5 separate regions of the Homo sapiens genome follow, and regions 1, 2, 3 and 4 are each linked to region 5. Evidence: promoter capture Hi-C in 16 types of primary human blood cells and fetal thymus (Javierre and others, 2016). All regions are on one chromosome and are shown on one strand. Each heading gives the region's core, a stretch centred on a gene start or on the middle of the fragment in contact. The rest is flanking DNA. Distances are from core to core; before and after follow the strand shown. Region 1 overlaps PPM1H (protein phosphatase, Mg2+/Mn2+ dependent 1H). Region 2 overlaps PPM1H (protein phosphatase, Mg2+/Mn2+ dependent 1H). Region 3 overlaps PPM1H (protein phosphatase, Mg2+/Mn2+ dependent 1H). Region 4 overlaps TAFA2 (TAFA chemokine like family member 2). Region 5 holds the start of MON2-AS1 (MON2 antisense RNA 1).

The links. Contacts are between HindIII fragments. The CHiCAGO score rates a contact against its expected background, and 5 or more counts as called.
Region 1: a fragment that was not itself captured here is called in contact with the fragment with the promoter of MON2-AS1 in region 5 in 5 of 17 cell types (total B cells, fetal thymus, naive B cells and 2 more); the score reaches 9.6 in total B cells.
Region 2: a contact is called between a fragment that was not itself captured here and the fragment with the promoter of MON2-AS1 in region 5, in 5 of 17 cell types (activated CD4 T cells, naive CD8 T cells, non-activated CD4 T cells and 2 more). The highest score is 5.3, in activated CD4 T cells.
Region 3: a fragment that was not itself captured here is called in contact with the fragment with the promoter of MON2-AS1 in region 5 in 11 of 17 cell types (naive B cells, total CD8 T cells, total B cells and 8 more); the score reaches 18.4 in naive B cells.
Region 4: a contact is called between a fragment that was not itself captured here and the fragment with the promoter of MON2-AS1 in region 5, in 1 of 17 cell types (activated CD4 T cells). The highest score is 5.1, in activated CD4 T cells.

What each region holds. Positions count from the first base shown.
Region 1 is chr12:62,844,050-62,847,784 of GRCh38, forward strand. All of the region lies in intron 1 of PPM1H (protein phosphatase, Mg2+/Mn2+ dependent 1H), which reads right to left. The region is part of intron 1 of LOC105369795 (a long non-coding RNA gene); the gene reads left to right. Among named protein-coding and RNA genes, the nearest start is that of PPM1H, 89 kb to the right of the region's middle. The HindIII fragment of the contact is 2,951 bases long and covers 795-3,735 here.
Region 2 is chr12:62,757,579-62,761,280 of GRCh38, forward strand. The region is part of intron 4 of PPM1H (protein phosphatase, Mg2+/Mn2+ dependent 1H); the gene reads right to left. Among named protein-coding and RNA genes, the nearest start is that of MIRLET7I, 160 kb to the left of the region's middle. The HindIII fragment of the contact is 7,008 bases long and covers 1-3,702 here.
Region 3 is chr12:62,788,156-62,791,634 of GRCh38, forward strand. It overlaps PPM1H (protein phosphatase, Mg2+/Mn2+ dependent 1H), which reads right to left. Exons shown (of 10, transcript NM_020700.2): 4 at 71-183. Among named protein-coding and RNA genes, the nearest start is that of PPM1H, 150 kb to the right of the region's middle. The HindIII fragment of the contact is 2,571 bases long and covers 234-2,804 here.
Region 4 is chr12:62,179,276-62,182,633 of GRCh38, forward strand. All of the region lies in intron 1 of TAFA2 (TAFA chemokine like family member 2), which reads right to left. Among named protein-coding and RNA genes, the nearest start is that of TAFA2, 12 kb to the right of the region's middle. The HindIII fragment of the contact is 1,837 bases long and covers 855-2,691 here.
Region 5 is chr12:62,483,346-62,486,826 of GRCh38, forward strand. It overlaps MON2-AS1 (MON2 antisense RNA 1), which reads right to left and starts at 1,597. Exons shown (of 2, transcript NR_186172.1): 1 at 1,424-1,597. It overlaps MON2 (MON2 regulator of endosome-to-Golgi trafficking), which reads left to right. Exons shown (of 35, transcript NM_015026.3): 2 at 825-888. The HindIII fragment of the contact is 7,471 bases long and covers 1,105-3,481 here.

The DNA.
Region 1 (3,735 bases), core at 1,020-3,519, 360 kb after region 5:
AGAAAGTACAATAAGACTTTGCCTTTGTCAACCTTAAATAACGAGATTCAGAAATTATGATTAAGCATCGAGTTTATTCCAGCGCAGTGCAAAGCTTAAGAACAGCCACCTGGGCAGCACACACTCCAAATGGATGGGGTTGGTGTTCCAAAGTGGGGAAGCTAAGGTTTCACTTATATAGGCAGAAACAGTTTTAGCAGGGTTCAGCACTTTCTGTACAAAGCCAGTATGTAACATTACAGTGATTTGCTTAGTATGGATTACTACATTCCAAGGAAGATTGCTTTAGCATTCCTGAGGAGAAATAATGTTCTGAGGGGCAAGGGGGGCGTCTTATCTCTGATGCTGCTTCTTCATTGCTAATCATTTATAGGAAAAAGCAGAAATAGCAACTGCATGCTACATGATTCAGGCTACGTAGCCACATTCCCCTCAAGGCTCAAGATAACTTAAAGTTCCAACAGCTTTAAGTTTGGATTATTTAATTTCACACTTTGAAGGAGACAAATGCGCTGAATGTAAGCGATTTTAAATTAGATGCTTAATACCATCCTTAAATAAAAAGGACAAGGTGGACTACCAATATATTTCAATTAGTCAAGGGTAGATGTGTTCCAAAATGTTGTGTGTTTATTTCAGTTGTGTTCTCCCTATCTCAAATCACATAGCACGGAGTAGGTACTCGATAAATGTTAATTGAATGAATAAACAAATGAACTCATTTTGCCATAACACCCCATGGGAGAGAGACTAGAATAATGACGGTGTTCTAAGCCTGCCTATATATTTCTTAAAGCTTACAATATTTGGAGTTTCTCCTCATTTGATTTCTGCATTCCATAGAAAAAAATTAATTATAAGCACTTCTACTAGGAAATGAGCTTGGGAGTAGGATATGTTAAAGTGACCCCTAAACATTCTCCAGCAAAGAAGTAGCTGATAGATGTCAGAGCCTAGGGTACCTCTTCATCCAAATTCCACCTCTGGCTTCTGCCTTATAAATAAGTTCTCACCCTATTAACAGTTAGAGCCGACCAAGAAGGCCCTGGAGGGCCAGGATGGCTCTTTTACAACATCAAAAGACTACTGCAAAGGAGGGAAATTCCAAAGGTCTAAACAGGACCTGGAAGTAGCAGAAAGATAATTCTGACACTATCGGTTTGAAGCTACCCAGCCATGCAATGAGTTACCTCAAAAAGTAGAATTCCCTTCACTGGAAATGTCCAAAAGCTGGCTTATGACCTCCCAGGGATACTCTGAGGATCTCTGCATGGAATGGGAAGTTCCTAAGGCTTCTTTTCTAACTGTTGAGCCTATACCTCCATCCTCTTCTTGCCTCCATCTGTAGTTAATACAAAATCTATACTTCTTTCAGAGCTAAAATTTACATGGAACATAGTTTTAGAAAAGGGGAGTGGTACTTCTTGCTGAGGCAATTCTCTGACACCTGGTAGACCATATATGAGGTATGGAAAGTCTTGTAAAAATGGAAATTTCATTGACTTGACTTCCTATCCCCAACTAGACCTTTAATACGGGTGTACAAGGGAACCTCAAGTGCTGCTGTTCCTTGGGGCTGCAAATGTGGCTTGCTGTTCTTCCTCCCCAGACAACTTTCCCTGGGAGATCGTCTCTATTCCCAAGGCTTCATTTAAGATCCAAACACTAAGCACTGCCAAAATCATATCTACAGTACAGATCTCTGGGGGTGCCTGGCCTGTGTTTCCAAATACCTGTAGAATATCTGCCTTTGCATGTTGCACAACATGCAAGCTGCCCAACCCTATATTCATTTCTCCTTCCTTCTGCTGTCTCCTTCCTGTCTCAAATACAATCCTCCTTCTGGTGTTCTTTGTCTTAGTGGACAAAGAATTCCAAGGAGCATCCTTGTCCTCCCAGCTTACTACTCTCCCCACATCTAGCTTCTCAGCCTGCGGGGCTAAGTCATAACTATGACTTACATCCCCATTTCCATGCCTTGTCCAGGCCCTTGTCACATCCAGCAGGCACCAATATTTAAACCTCCTAACCTGTCGTCTCTTCTTAGTAAATCCTGCACAGCAGGCCCGGACTGACCTTTCTCAACCGTGAATGTGGCCATGTCTCTCCCATGCTCAAATATCTCCAAATGGGCTCTGAAGATTTCAGGATAAAATTTAAACTTTTGGGCCAGGTGCGGTGGCTCACGCCTGTAATCCCAGCACTTTGGGAGGCCAAGGCAGGCGGATCATCTGAGGTAAGGAGTTCGAGACCAGCCTAGCCAACATGGCAAAACCATCGGTACTAAAAAAAATACAAAAATTAGCTGGGCATGGTGGCAGGCACCTGTAGTCCCAGCTACTAAGGAGGCTGAGACAGGAGAATCTCTTGAACCCAGGAGGCGGAGGTTGCAGTGAGCCGAGATTGCGCCACTGCACTCCAGCCTGGGCAACAGAGCGAGATTCCGCCTCAAAAAAAAAAAAATTTTTTTTTTTTTTAACTTTTTAGCTTACCATATCAGTGTCTTCCTGACGGGCCCTCTGAATATCCTCAGCTTCCCCCATCTGGTCTCCTCGCACCCCCTCATCCTTAGCCATAATAAACAGTTTGTGGTTTACAAAAAGCACCCAGTTGCTACATACCACGATTCCTTCTCACATGCCTTTTCCACCCCCTGCAATGACCTAACCTCCTCTTGTCTGACAAACATCCCTTGTCCTTCAGTATTCAGTTTGTTAAGGCTATTTTGCATGCACTTTATTGTTCTTAAAGACTGCAGTGTAACCAGTAAGTAGCACAGTGCTCATAGTATGGAAATCACCAGAAACTTGGATTGGTATCCTAGCTCTGCCACTGGCTAGTTGTGTGTCTTGGGGAGGTTAATGGGCTACTGTGTGGACTAAGAGAATGCATAAATGTAAAGTGCATATACCTGTCAGAGATGTTTTTATCTGCCCAGACTCCCTTTCTCCTAGACATCATCTTTCCTTCCCACCCTCCTCCGTCCCATTCATATGGTTTTTCCATGGCCAGAGGTGACTGGTTTAGGGATGGCCACCTGATCTCTGAGCTGAGCCAATTAGGGCCCTTCTGTGAAAAATGAAAGAAAGAAAAAGGCAGCAGAAGGCAAGAAGGGGAAGAGAGGGAGAGACAAAGAGGAGAAGAGTACATATTTGTGAGAAGAGTACATGTTGGAAATAGAATCTCAACAGAGTCCCTAGTTCTAGGTGTTCCCAAGACCCATTTGTCTTTGGAATATCTGGGTAACCCCAATATTCTCTAATAAATTTCCCTTGAATGGCTGTCAATTGCAAGCTAGAGTATAGCAAGACCCAACTCTCAATACACCCTCACTATACTATCATTATTAAACTGCAAGGGCCGTGAAGGTAGGGGTAGAAACTTATTTAATTCTGTATTCTCAGAGATTAGCATAGTGCCTGATATACTGCAGGCAGTCAAGTACCTACTAAATGAAAGGTTTGTTGACTTCAGGGGAGAAATTATAATTCAGGGTTAAAATTTATATCACAAGCTCAAGGATCTCTACCTAACATCCTGTGCTAAGAGGTAAAAGACAACAAGAAGTAGCAAATTTTTGCCAGTTATGACCAGAGCAAGCCAGTGAGGTAAACATCTGACAGCCACTGATCAGGCATATTTAATCTTCTGAATATCTTTGATTTATTATCAATTGAGTAAATCAAAGTTTATTTTAAGGATTCAAAAAAAAAGCTGTTAAACTTACATAGATAA
Region 2 (3,702 bases), core at 96-2,595, 270 kb after region 5:
ACCAGAAATGTACCATCATAGATCTACTATTTTCAAGTGTCTTTCTTGGGGCAAGTTTCAAGTTGTAAGGTTGTCTTTACAATAGAATTATTGAAAGGCACTTCCTACCATAACACCACTCCAGAAAACACTCGGAAGCAGCTCTATCATTTAAGACCCATGTTTCTGTGTCCCAATTTCTATGGACTTATCCAAATTTACAATTTCAAATGTTTAGCATCAGTCAGTAAGTCACACACTCCACAGAACAAGAGGCTCTTAGAACACAATTATTATCTTATTCCCATTGGCTGGTCTCATTCACAACCACCTCTCAAAGAAGAAAAGCAGATGGAGGCTTCCCACATGCAACCCTTTATGGCTCCAGCCTGGTGCAATTTAGGAGTGAGGTTTAGAAGGAATTAGAAAGCGCAGTAATAGAGACAGTCATTGTAATTTGAAACATGAATTTGCTGTTCAAAAGGCTAAACTGGAGTGCTTAAAGCTAAGTGCTTAAAACTACCCCAGAACCCTAAAGTAATGTACCATAATTACAATTACTTTCCTTCAATAATAGATTTAAAAAGTTAATACTTTCTTGTGTTTGGCTGGAATCACTCAGTCATCCATTGTAGTTGTGAGATCTCTTTCTTGGAAATCAACATCTTCATTTGGTTTCCACATGAATAATTCTTGGAAGCTACAAAGTCTTTGAAGGGTATTTATTTTTGCCTTGAGGTCTGGTGGCCTCAAAGTTCACATGAACCTCACAGATGCAAACTATCTCAGCATGATTCATCTATGCCTATAGCGTTCTCACCAAAGGGAGGTCCCTGCCTGTGTGGGGTTTCCATATTTATACTGCTTTGTGTGTTTATTTGTAGTTAAAATTGTTTTCACAAGTCAAATAAATTTAAAGATGACCTACAATGCACATGCATGAGAAATTAAGCCAAAACTCAGATTCTTGACTGAATCACTGTTTGTTTTATCTTGGTGGTGGGACATGTGCTTTGCCTAAACTTCAAACTTCTTATCCTTCTGCCTCCATAATTGCAATCATCTCACTCTCCACACTGGCTACATTTTATTTAAACCTTCCAACTGTGGAGGAAAAAAAAGGAGCATCTAACCCAAGACAGGTGTCACCTAGACAGGAACTATCTGAGAGCTAAGAGAATTTCTTTTCTCCATGAAATGCTGTGGTGGTTAGTGTCAGGCCTCTGAGCCCAAGCTAAGCCATCATATTCCCTGTGACCTGCACTTTTACATCCAGATGGCCTGAAGCAACTGAAGATCCACAAAAGAAGTGAAAATAGCCTTAACTGATGACATTCCACCATTGTGATTTGTTTCTGCCCCACCCTAACCGATCAATGTACTTTGTAATCTCCCCCACCCTTAAGAAGGTTCTTTGTAATTCTCCCTACCCTTGAGAATATACTTTGTGAGATCCACCCACTGCCCGCAAAACATTGCTCCTAACTCCACTGCCTATCCCAAAACCTTTAAGAACTAACGATAATCCACCACCCTTTGCTGACTCTCTTTTTGGACTCAGCCCGCCTGCACCCAGGTGAAATAAACAGCCATGTTGCTCACACAAAGCCTGTTTGGTGGTCTCTTCACACGAACACGTGAGACATTTGGTGCCGAAGACTCGGGTAAGTGGGACTCCTTCGGGAGACCAGTCCCCTGTCCTCACCTCACTCTCACTCCATGAAGAGATCCACCTATGACATCAGGTCCTCAGACCAACCAGCCCAATGAACATCTCACTGATTTTAAATCGGGTAAGCGGTCTATTTTTACTCTCTTCTCCAACCTCTCTCACTATCCCTCAACCTCTTTCTCCTTTCAATCTTGGCACCACCCTTCAATCTCTCCCTTCTCTTAAGTTCAATTCCTTTCATTATCTGGTAGAGACAAAGGAGACACATTTTATCCGTGGACCCAAAATTCTGGCACTGGTCACGGACTCGGGAAGACAGCCTTCCCTTGGTGATTAATCATTGCGGGGACGCCTGCCTGATTATTCACCCACGTTTCAGAGGTGTCTGACCACTCGGGGATGCCTGCCTTGGTCTTTCACCCTTAGCAGCAAGCACCGCTTTTCTGGGGGGCAAGCACCCCTGACTCCTTCTCTCCGTGTCTCTACCCCTTCTCCACTTTCCTGGGGGGCAAGCACCTCCCACTCCTTTTCCACTTTCCTGGGGGGTAAGCACCTCCCACCCCATTTCCACTTTCCTGGGGGGCAAGCACCTCCCACCCTGTTTCCACTTTCCTGGGGGGCAAGCATCTCCCACCCTGTTTCCACTTTCCTGGGGGGCAAGCACCTCTCACCCCTTCTTCACTTTCCTGGGGGGCAAGCACCCCCCATCCCTTCTCTCCATGTCTCTACCCTTCTCTTTAAACTTGCCTCCTTCACTATGGGCAACCTTCCACCCTCCATTCTTCCTTCTTCTCCCTTAGCCTGTGTTCTCAAGAACTTAAAACCTCTTCAACTCTAGCCTGACCTAAAATCTAAGCATCTTATTTTCTTCTGCAATACTGTTTGGCCCCAGTACAAACTCGACAATGGTTCTAAATAGCCAGAAAATGGCACTTTTGATTTCTCTGTTTTACAAGATCTAGATAATTTTTGTCGAAAAATGGGCAAATGGTCTGAGGTGCCTGACGTCCAGGCATTCTTTTACACATTGGTTCCTCCCTAGTCTCTGCTCCCAGTGAGACTCGTCCCAAATCTTTCTTCTTTCCCTCCCACCTGTCCCTTCAGTCCCAACCCCAAGTGTCACTGAGTCTTGTGAATCTTCCCTTTCTACTAACCCATCTGACCTCTCACCTCCTCCCCAGGCTGCTCCTCCTCCGGTCGCTCCCTGCCAGGTTGAATCAGGCTCCAACTCTTCTTCAGCCTCTGCTCCCCCACCCTATAACCCTTCTATTACCTCCCCTCACACCCAGTCTGGTTTACAGTTTCATTCTGCAACTAGCTCTCCCCCACCTGCTCAACAATTTCCGCTTAGAGAGGTGGCTGGAGCTGAAGGCATAGTCAGGGTACATGTGCCTTTTTCTCTATCAGACCTTTCCCAAATCAGCCAGTGTTTAGGCTCTTTCTCATCAGACCCCACTAAATATATACAGGAATTCCAATATCTAACTCTGTCCTACAATTTAACCTGGAGCGACTTAAATGTCATCCTAATAGTTAGGCCAATTCCCAGAATGACTAAAGAAAAATAACTTTTCCTATAAAAGGTGAGTAAATGGCCAAATGACCTAGACTAGCTCTGAAGGGTAAGCACTGAGTCCCAGGTTAAAGATTACATTCTAACCACACACCAGTCATACTCTGCTCCGGGAAAAACCTTAAGTACTTGTGACCTTCTGTCCCTAACTTAGATGTTGTTTACTTTCAGTTTACATACAGTGCAAACACCAGGGTGTACATGATTTTCAAGTCAAAAAAGATAAGGACTAATCCAGAAAGGAGAAGGAATTCTGTTTCATGCAGGCTCCTTGACAGCAGCAAGAGATAACAAAACCACAACACAGGAGGCTTTAGAAAAAAACTAAATAAAAAGCCGTAATCTCAAAGAAGACTACAGCCAACAATAAATATTAATACTATAAAGTAAGGTCCTAAGGACTCCACAGTTACGGAGGAATAAGGGATCAGAAGTTCATATCCATTATTTGGAAGCATTAAGAAATGTTTAGATTATT
Region 3 (3,479 bases), core at 269-2,768, 300 kb after region 5:
TTTTTGAGACAAAATAAAAACATCAGAAGGCATTAGAAATTAGCAAGAATCAGACAGCTCATCTGCTTACCTGCTATCCCCAGCATTTGCAACATACAGCTTCCCCAAAAGGCAAATCACAATGAGGGCCGTGCAGCCACCAGATATATTATATGAACTCCTCTCTCGTTCTATCTGTAGGTCCTGGAGAATAAAACAGAGTTAGTGTTGGATTGTGCAGGATGTGTAGCAAAAGCTTTCTCACTTTCATTCTCTTGACAGTCCCCAGACTCTGAATGTGCTTCAAGAAGGGACTAGAAAAATCTTTAGTGCTTGCTTTCCTACCACCTGATGAGCATTTCTGGAGAGGACACTGGCATAAAACTGCCACATATTAGACCATCTGTGAACCAGAGACAGGAAACAATAGACAGCAAACAGAAACAATCAGACAAAAATGCAAATAAAATGTAAGTTGTATTCAGTAAATATCACAGCTTATGGAAAATTTAGTCTTTGTGGATTGCATGAGCTACCATGTGAAACATACACTAGAGAGGCTGAGGATGACAAGTACTTGGACCTGATCAATGTTTTGTTTGTTTTTTGAAGACAGGATCTGGCTCTGTCACCCAGGCTAGAGTGCAGTGGCCCAATCTTGGCTCACTGCAACCTGTGCTTCCCAGGCTCAAGCAATCCTCCCACCTCAGCCTTCCGAGTACCTGGGACCACAGGTGCGCACCACCATGCCCGGCTAATTTTTGTATTTTTTGTAGAGATGGGGTCTTGCCACATTGTCCAGGCTGGTCTCGAACTCCTGTGCTGAAGCAATCTGCCTGCCTCGGCCTCCCAAAGTGCTGGGATTACAGGCATGAGCCACTGCGCCCAGCCTTGTCTTTTTAGAGAAGGTTTGCTCTGTCACCCAGGCTGGAGTGCAGTGGTATGATCATAGCTCACTGCAGCCTTGACCTCCTGGGCTCAAGCCTCCTGCCTTAGCCTCCTGAGTAGCTGGGACTACAGGTCTGTGCAGCCACCACACCCAGCTAACTCCTCCATTTTTTGTGGGGACAGGGTCTCACTATGTTGCCCAGGCTGGTCTCAAACTCTTGGCCTCAAACAATCCTGTCTCAGCCTCCCAAAGCACTGGGCCACCATACCCAGCCCAGATATGATCAATGTTTTAAACTCCAAAGTCTTGGATAAATAGTCTCTTTTACAGATAAATTACAGAAAGATGTCTTCTATTCAACACAGGCAGGAGTCAAGCCATGACTTATAGGGCAAAGACTTACAATGACTTATAAATGACTTAAAATGACTTAAATAAATTATAAATGACTTATAATGACTTAAATGACTTCAAATGACTTATAGGGCTTCTGAACTCTGACCTGACTTTTCCTCTTCCCACAGCCACCAATTTACAATGGTAAAACGTTTATAATAATTAGAAACATTCATTGAGAACTTTCTCTACGTCACGTAGTGTGCTGAGCACTTTATACTCAAACTCTCATATCGTCCTCAAGACCATCACTATGAACCTCATTGTTTAGTTGCAGAGAAGTGGGGTAGCCTGCCCATATTTACCTGGCTAGAGTCTGGATTCCAACCTGCTTCTCTTCCAAAGTTTGTGTTGTTACCTGCCACCTAATGAGGCCTCCCCAAGGAATTGATATTAAAAATAGACCAACACTGGCATCATCAAGACAGATACCTGTGAAATTCTGTGTTAGCGATAGAAGCAAAGGTTCTGTTACCTCAGAAAAATCTGTGTTAGTAAGATACATTGAATGCCTGGCTAAAATAATGCCAAATCTTCCAGTGGTAATCTACTACTTTTGGTGCAGAGGGAAGGAAAATGAGGGCTGGCTAAAAATTACAGGAAGAGGAAGAAACGGTGACGTTGATGCTGTTGTTGGCAGATCTAGGGTCAGGCCACTATTGTAATCCTGAGAATCCCACAGAGTTAGAGCTCAGCTGCTTCAACCAGACTCCTCATGGAAAAGGGGGAGAGAAGTCAAGACCCCAGCATTTACCAGCAACTGCTTTGCTCTAGGGGCCAGAGATGGTAACATAAAAAGGGTAAATCACCAATGGGAAACTGGAAACAGAAGAGCTTGAGCTTAGGGATATCATATTGGTTAAAGAGCAAATGGAAGCCAGGCACGGTGGCTAACGCCTGTAATTCCAATACTTTGGGAGGCAGAGACAGGAGGTCACTTGAGGCTAGGAGTTCAAGACCAGCCTGGGCAACATAGTGATACCCCCATCTCTATAAAAAATAATTAGCTGGGTGTGGTGGCACATGCCTGTAGTCTTAGCTACTTGGGAGGCTGAGGACAGAGGATCTCTTGAGCCCAGGAGTTCGAGGCTGCAGTAAGCCATGATCATGCCACTGTGCTTTAGCCGGGGTGACAGAGCGAGACCCTGTCTCAAAAACAAAAACAAAATAACAACAAAAACCAGTAAATAGAGAAAAAACACAAAGCCAGGACTTGGGAGAGACCAACACACTGGGAGAGAGCTGGGTAAGAGATTGCGGGAGGGGAACTGGAGAGCCACGGGGAGGAGGTAGGAATATGTGTTGGGGGATGTAGTGGTTTATAAACAAGTGAGGAAACACTTCAATATGGGAGTGAACAGCAGCAGCAAAAGCTGCAGAAGCATCAAGCATGGGGCAAACTTCAAAGGACTATGTGGGATTTTTAACATTTACTTCAACTGTGTATAAATTAGCTTTCTTAAAGGACTGTCGTAAGGCTAAATTAGCTGGCATGTGTGAGGGGCTTAGTAGGATATCTGGACCCTTCCCGCAGCCCAGAAGCTTCAACATTGAGAGCGGTGGCCTTTCTTGCTCATCTTAGACCCTCAACACCTAGGTTAGGCCAGGTAAATGGTAGTTTAATAAATATCTGTTCAATGGACAAATGAAGAAATAAATTTTAAATTTTTTTTATCTGCCTCTCCCCTTACCTCTGCCTTAATATGAAAAATGGATTCCACAATTCACAAATGAAAAGCTTACAATGCCAACGCTCGCTGAGATAATAATTAAGCAGAAACCCATGCTTCAATTAAAATGCTTGACTGCCAAGAATGGTTATCAGAACCTACACAAGACTGGTAGAAGGCTGGAGGATGAGGAGGAGGGGCACGGGTGTCAGGTGGGAAGAATTATCTCAAGCAAATAGAAGAGAGGAGAAGGAAAACATCAAGATGCCTGTTTAACCTCCAAGAAAACCCATAAAAACAGAACCCCAAACCCTACTAAGGGGTTTGTGGATGGAATTGCTACTTTTTTTGCATTTAAAGAACGCATATAAAGTTGATACTATGATAGATACATATTTTACTGAATTATATAAGTTGATAAAGAGTCTGCATCCAATACATCAAAAGGAACTGCTCAGCTACAGAGACTATTTTTTCACTGTCAGAATCAATATTTGCTTGAATACCTAAAAGGCTGAAAGACAATATTTATTAAAAATTATTTG
Region 4 (3,358 bases), core at 523-3,022, 300 kb before region 5:
ATTCTAGGGAGGAAGTCGACAGAAAGGACAATGACCAAGATGTGTTCAAGTGACAGAATAGAAGCATTATATGCTTCTATAGAACTTGGAGAAATCTTTATAGAACTTGGAAGAATCTAAGTAACCATTAAATCCAACCCTCTCATTTGCCATAGAGAAAACTGGTGATGAAAATGATCAGTAATTTTTTTCCAAGGGCTGATAGCTATCTGTGGCAGTGTCAGAACTGGAACTCATTATTTTTGACTTTTAGTTTAATAAACAACCTTGACAGAAATTTCTTGTTCCTGAATAGAGGTTTTACAAGACTGAGGCAGGACACTCGGTTTGGCTCCACGCATTTTTCTCTCCTCTATGGTCTTACTTCAGTGCATTGCCATTTTACCTCTTTGTTCCCCAAGAATTTCAATGGATTTATTCTTTTCTAACTTCTTACTTTTCTCAAAGGTCAAGGATTTCCTCTTTTTTTAGAGAGAAATCTAGAACAAACTTCCCTTCTGATCTTCTTTTCTCTCTTACTTTTACTCCATCTGGCTCCCTACCTGATAATTCTTCCTCGTTATATCCCACAAAATGCTAACCCTGCCACCTTCTCAATCCCTGACTGCCAGTTATTCAGTCTGCTTTTTTCTCTCAGTTCACTCCGGTCTGCCATACCATCTGCCCAGTGAACTTGATGCAGATTTCATAAAATGCAAAGTAAAATATTAGCTACAAACCCTGAAGTTCACCTTAAAGACTAGGTAATCAGCTGCTAGGAAAAGACAGTAAGCAAGGAAAATCATAGCTCACCCAGTTTTCCTAGTAGTGTAACATGGACTCTGCTCCAAGGTAAAATTCACCAATGTGCAGTAAGCTTGATTTCAATTCCATGTATTGATTTTAAATTTTTTTCAGTACTATACAGTACCTGAATTTTTTACGAATTTTCATATTTGGGATTGCATTGGGGAAGAAGAATAGATACATCTTTTTCAATAAGTACCACCGTAGCCATAGCTCAAAAATTAGATTGAGCTTAGAGCTTAGTTACACAAGTCTGAGTGTTTTGGGACAATACAAGGAAAAATCAGGTTCATTCCATTTAAAGCCTTTCTTGAGAATCATCAGAGAATCCCAAAAATATTATACTTCAAAGACTAAAGACATCATATTCAAGGGTTTTGAGAAAGTTTCTAAGTGTGTAGCAATGCTAATATATACAGTTATAATCTTTTAAAATACATGCAAAGAAAAAATATTCAACTTTTTTATAATCTAATAAACTGAACTTTTTCAGGTTTTATTAAACATATGTGTTTTTTAAATAATCAAGTACAGTCAAAGAGTTTTAATTTTGTGGAATCTTCTATGGTGGCAAGAATTTAGAAGCCTTACTTAACTCAGAAGGGTGAAAATGAAATCAATAAATATCTGAGCATATTAGCTATACTAAATAGCATTTAGAATTAGAATAGCCAAAAAAATTTAGTATCATTGAAGCCAAGAACAATGGTATCATGGTCAATAATGTTTCTGAAGTTAACAAAAAAAAAGCAAATCCCAGTTCATGATAAATTACAAAAATGGTAATTATGTAGATAAGAATAAATGGCTTTAAATTCCCTAATGAATGAGTCAAGTTACTGACAAGAGCAATCAAAATATATTCCATATGTGATTAACAACACTTAAATTTGACATTGACAAATATTATTTAATTTATACAACAGTAGAATCACAAGTGTATGTAGTCTCTAAGTCTCCAGGTTACAATAAATTATGGAAAGAATGAGAATTTCAGTCAGCATGCTTACTTTATTTTTGTCCTTGACCTTTTGCCTAGAATGTATTTGTTAATTCGGGTGTAGGTCAGAAAAACTGGTGCCCCCCGCCCCCTGAGTCTCTCTCTCACATACACACACGCGTGTGCACACACACATAATTAGAAATGACACTTCTTCACAGAATTCTCCCTTCGGCATTGAAGAAACATATAAAGCTACACTCTATCAATTTGTAACTATGTAACTACTGATCCCATCTTCCCATTAAGTTTATTAAGTACCTATTAGATGCCAGACACTATGCTAAACATTGAGAATCAATAGAAATGAGATATACATGGGTCTGCCTCACAGAGCTTACAGTCTAACAGATTCAGTGGAATGAATTGATATCATTCCTCTGCTATAAGCAAAGCTATTCTATATAGTAGAAACTTGTAAACACTTAGAAGAAAAAAACTGAGTAAGATTTAATAGCATGACTATTACGAACTATATTAATCATACAACTTGAAAGAAAACAAATTGCTTCACTCCCTCAGACTGACATGTCTAAATCTAATCTCAGTTTATAATTAATACACCAGCATAAGGAAACATAAGAACTTCCAGAGCATTGATAAAACTGATGACGAAATATTTCATCCAGTGAACTGAGCTTGTGACATGAGGTCCTAGACAGCAGTAGAATAGAGTCACGTACCTTAGCTATGACACCTTCTGACATTAGCCAAACTGGCTTAGGGTGAGAAAATCCTTCTAATATATGAAGATAAGAAGTTCAAACTTCCTAAATCATAAAGTATTATGTCTTCAATCCTATAGGAATCACTTATGGAAAGTTATTTAAGATTAACAGGGCAAAATTTACAAAAAGGAAGAGATATTCATTTTAAAATTGTAAGCCCAATAAATACACAAGGAAAGCTTCATCTTTTCTCAAGTCCATCCCCCCCCCGCTACACATAGTAGCTACTCAAGTAGAACAAAAACCTAGACATTATGGCCAAAATTTTGACATCTAAGCCCTAAAAGGAATAAGTCACTATTGAAATTCCAAAAATAATTTGGAGAACTAAAATTGACTTTGTATACTAGAATATATTGATATATAATATAATGTCTTAGTTATGAAATAAACATCTCTTCAAACTGTAGGATGTAAACCAAACTTGTATTAATATGTGAAAAACAATTTCTAATTTACGTATTGGAGGAAAAATATGTTCTCTAAATGGAAGGTTAAAAAACTAAGCAAAACACTTACAAATTCTGTGCTCCTATGAAAGAGCCTATGAGAAAAATGTTTGGAGTCAGTGACCAGGTTTGAGCTGCTTGCCACAGGGAGAAACCTGTCAAAGGGGTAAGAGTTGAAGGCTTCCCACCTTTTCGAATGTGCAGAATAAAATTTAGTGATAAAAATGCTTTCTAAAGCCATGCAACTCAAACCATAGTCCACGGGCCAACAGTATTCAGCTGGGAGCTTGTTAAAAAGGCAGAATCTCAGGCCCTCTTCCAGAACCTTCATTTTAGCAAAATTTCCCTGGTAATTTGTGTACACATAGAAGTTTAAAAGGCACTGTTATGAGGAA
Region 5 (3,481 bases), core at 347-2,846:
ACTACGGTTAATGAAGTGTTTGGTTATCCATTCTCAAAAAAGAAAACAAAGTAGCTTTTAAAATCCAACACAGGTCTGGGCACGGTGGCCCATGCCTGTAATCCTGGCACTTTGGGAGGCTGAGATGGGTGGATCACTTGAGGTCAGGAGTTCAAGACCAGCCTGGCCAACTAAAAATACAAAAAGTACAAAAATAAAACACTCTACTAAAAATACAAAAATTAGCCAGGCATGGTGGTGGGTGCCTGTAATCCCAGCTACTTGGGAGGCTGAGGCAGGAGAATGGCTTGAACCAGGGAGGCGGAGGTTGTAGTGAGCCAAGATCGTGCCATTGGACTCCAGCCTGGGCAACAAGAGCAAAAAACTCCATCAACAATAAATAAATAAATCCAACACAGTAGTTTTACTTGATTTTGCAGTGTTCTATAATTTTTTTGTGTGTGGTGGAGAGAGAGGAGGCTTGAAATGGGGAAAAGGAGCCTAATTATTTTCAGTAGATTTTGTTTTTGTTTGTTATTTTTATTCTCGGAAAATTTAACTTTGCAGGGGATTGAGGTATTCCAGATAATGCCTTAAGGCAGAGGAAGGCAACATGTTGTAGTGCATTCAGAGTTTGCATGTGAATAATCAAATTAATCATGTTTTATTACATTTAACGTATATGTCACTACTGGGCTTAGTATCTGATGGTTTGAAAATTAAAAAGGTGGTAGGGTAGTGACTGACTTTGTGCTTGATATTTTGTCTATCACATATGACTTATTTTCCATAGATAATTCATTTTGGCAGTAAATTTTGTGTTCTAATTATTTTTATTCTTGCAGGCTGCTGAATCAGGAATAATAAAAGTTAAAACAATTGCTGCACGAAACACTGAAATTTTGGCAGGTAATTTTTTGTATTAAAAATTTAATAATAAACAAAAATTTGACTAATAGTAAAAGTAGAATCTTTATTGTAAAAGCCATCAGTTTTCTGTAACATCTCTTCCTCATGCCCTAACATATGCTATTCATAATGAAACAGAATGGGCAAAAGTCCATAACTTATGAACTGACTGTATTTCCCAGAGACGAATGCTACAAAAATTCTCTGAAATCAGAAAGCTTAACACTACTGACTCCTTAAAGGCAAGGAATTTTTTCTTACTCATCTTCGCATTCTCCTCCACTTCCTGCTAATCACCTGAGACACACCATAAAAAGCATTCAGTAATATTTGTTCCATTGTATTGAATGAAAGATTTGTTCTCAGTCCACCTTCTGTGATCTACTTTCTCTTTAATATAATACGAACAGTTCATAACATAGTCTTCTGTATTTAGTTGTACCGTATGAATTTTGAGTCTTGGGATTAAGGCAGTATGATCATGAAAAAAGAATGAGAGTGAAGTAGAGAAAAGAAAACAAAAATGTTTTCTTACCTTCTCTTGATTGAACCTGATTTTCAAGGAGGAATTTTCAGGAGTTTCTCTTTGGCATCCTTCTTTTCTACCCAGTCCACTCCTTTCTCTTCCTTGGTGCCTTTTGTTCTTGCCTCAATAATGAACATGGAAAAGAGGTAAACTGGCTTTTTTTTTTTTTTTTTTTTAAGAATCTGTTATATGCAAGGCACTTGTGTCATTCTATCTTACATAACAACCTTGTGGGGAAATATTATCTTATTTGATAGTAGAGCTAATTGAGATGTGAAGAGGTTAAGTTACTTGCCCAAGGTCACAGGAAAGGTGATAGAACCAGATTAAAATCCAGGAGTGTTCAGGAGCCCATGTTCTTCCTGCTACAGTGTGCTACCATGGTATCACCAGGTTTCCACGTTAGCCACTTACTCCCAAGTATTACATATGTAACCAGTGCTTGCTTCAGTGATCCTTTAATCTGCATTTCCAGTTCCAGTAGTGCTGTTGATCTCAGCTAATCTATGAGGAAAGTAGTCCTATTAAATTAATTTACAGAGTCCAAATAGTAAATAATCTCTTTAACTTTCATATACTTTACATTTTTTAAAAGGGATACCAGTAAATCTGTAACTGGTGGGATTTCAGAGTGTTATGAAATGAAATTAAGATTTTTGGGGTCAGATTAAGGATCGGGGGCAAGAGTGGATTTCACTTAGGCTATCCAGCTTTGCTGGAAATTTGCCCTTAGCATAAGCGCTCCTCAATTACATCTGTTTCCCACAGCTTTTTCCCTGATTTTGAACAGTCTTATCAAAACACCCAATAGTTTTATAACATTATGCACAGAAGTAAATAATGCTCTGTGTGCATATTGAGAAGTGGTATAGTGAAAGTGGTGGGTAAAGGCAGAGGTGCACATGGTAGGGTTAGGAAGGCTGGCAAGTGGGTTTTTTTTGTTTGTCTGTTTGTTTTTCCTGAGATGGACTTTTGCTCTTGTTATCCCAGCTGGAGTGCAATGGTGTGGTCTCGGCTTACTGCAACCTCTGCCTCCTGGGTTCAAGCGATTCTCCTGCCTCAGCCACCCGAGTAGCTGAGATTTCAGGTGCCCAACACCACATCTGGCTAATTTTTGTATTTTTAGTAGAGACAGGGTTTCATCATGTTGGCTAGGCTGGTCTCGAACTCCTGACCTCGGGGTTCTCCCGCCTCGGCCTCTCCAAGTGTTGGGATTACAGGCGTGAGCCACTGCGCCCGGCCAGCATGTGGGTTTTAATGGGAGATGTACATTAGGCAGATTAGCTACTGTGGGGAAATTGGTGTTTAAAGAAAAATGATGACCTGGATATTTTTATGTTGGAGACTTACCATAGGCCAATCGTATTAGAATATCACTGTAAATATTTAAAATATTTACTGTTGCTAATATCATTGTTGATACCGTGGTAAGTCCTTAATTATTCTCCAATAATACAAATTTTTATTGGTTTTATAGTTTGTGGAAGACTTTTTTTAAAAAAAGACTGATTTCCTCAGAGGATCACTGTTATTCCAGCATTCTATCCCAAGTAAAATGTCTAATAAATTACTCTTAAGATGAGTAAGAAAAATTTTGACTTAGTCGGTATGATTTAAATATATAGGCAGGCTGTTAATTTCATTTTAATTCAATTTGCATTATTCAAATCAAGTTAGAACAGATCTGGTGCAAATACAATTAATAGTCATGTTTTAATCTTCGTAGTATCCAGAGCCCATATACTTGAGGAGGTATATTTGCACTTAAACTTTATCCTAGTATTTTTTCTGAAGTATTTAAAGCAATTATACCTAAAAGTTGTAGATTTATAGACCACTATCATCTTGAAAATCAGAGGCTCTTCAAAACAGAGTTTAAATTAGTCAGTATATAGTTTCTAAACTATATAATTAAGAGTACAGTTAATACTGAGAAAAATTTTTAGTTAACTTTTTAAAATTTCATGAGAAGTATTTACTTCTTTATGGTACTTGAGACTATAGGAGACTATACTACTTTTGTGCTCTAATGTATGTCAAAAATACCAAACAATTGAGGAGTCTCAA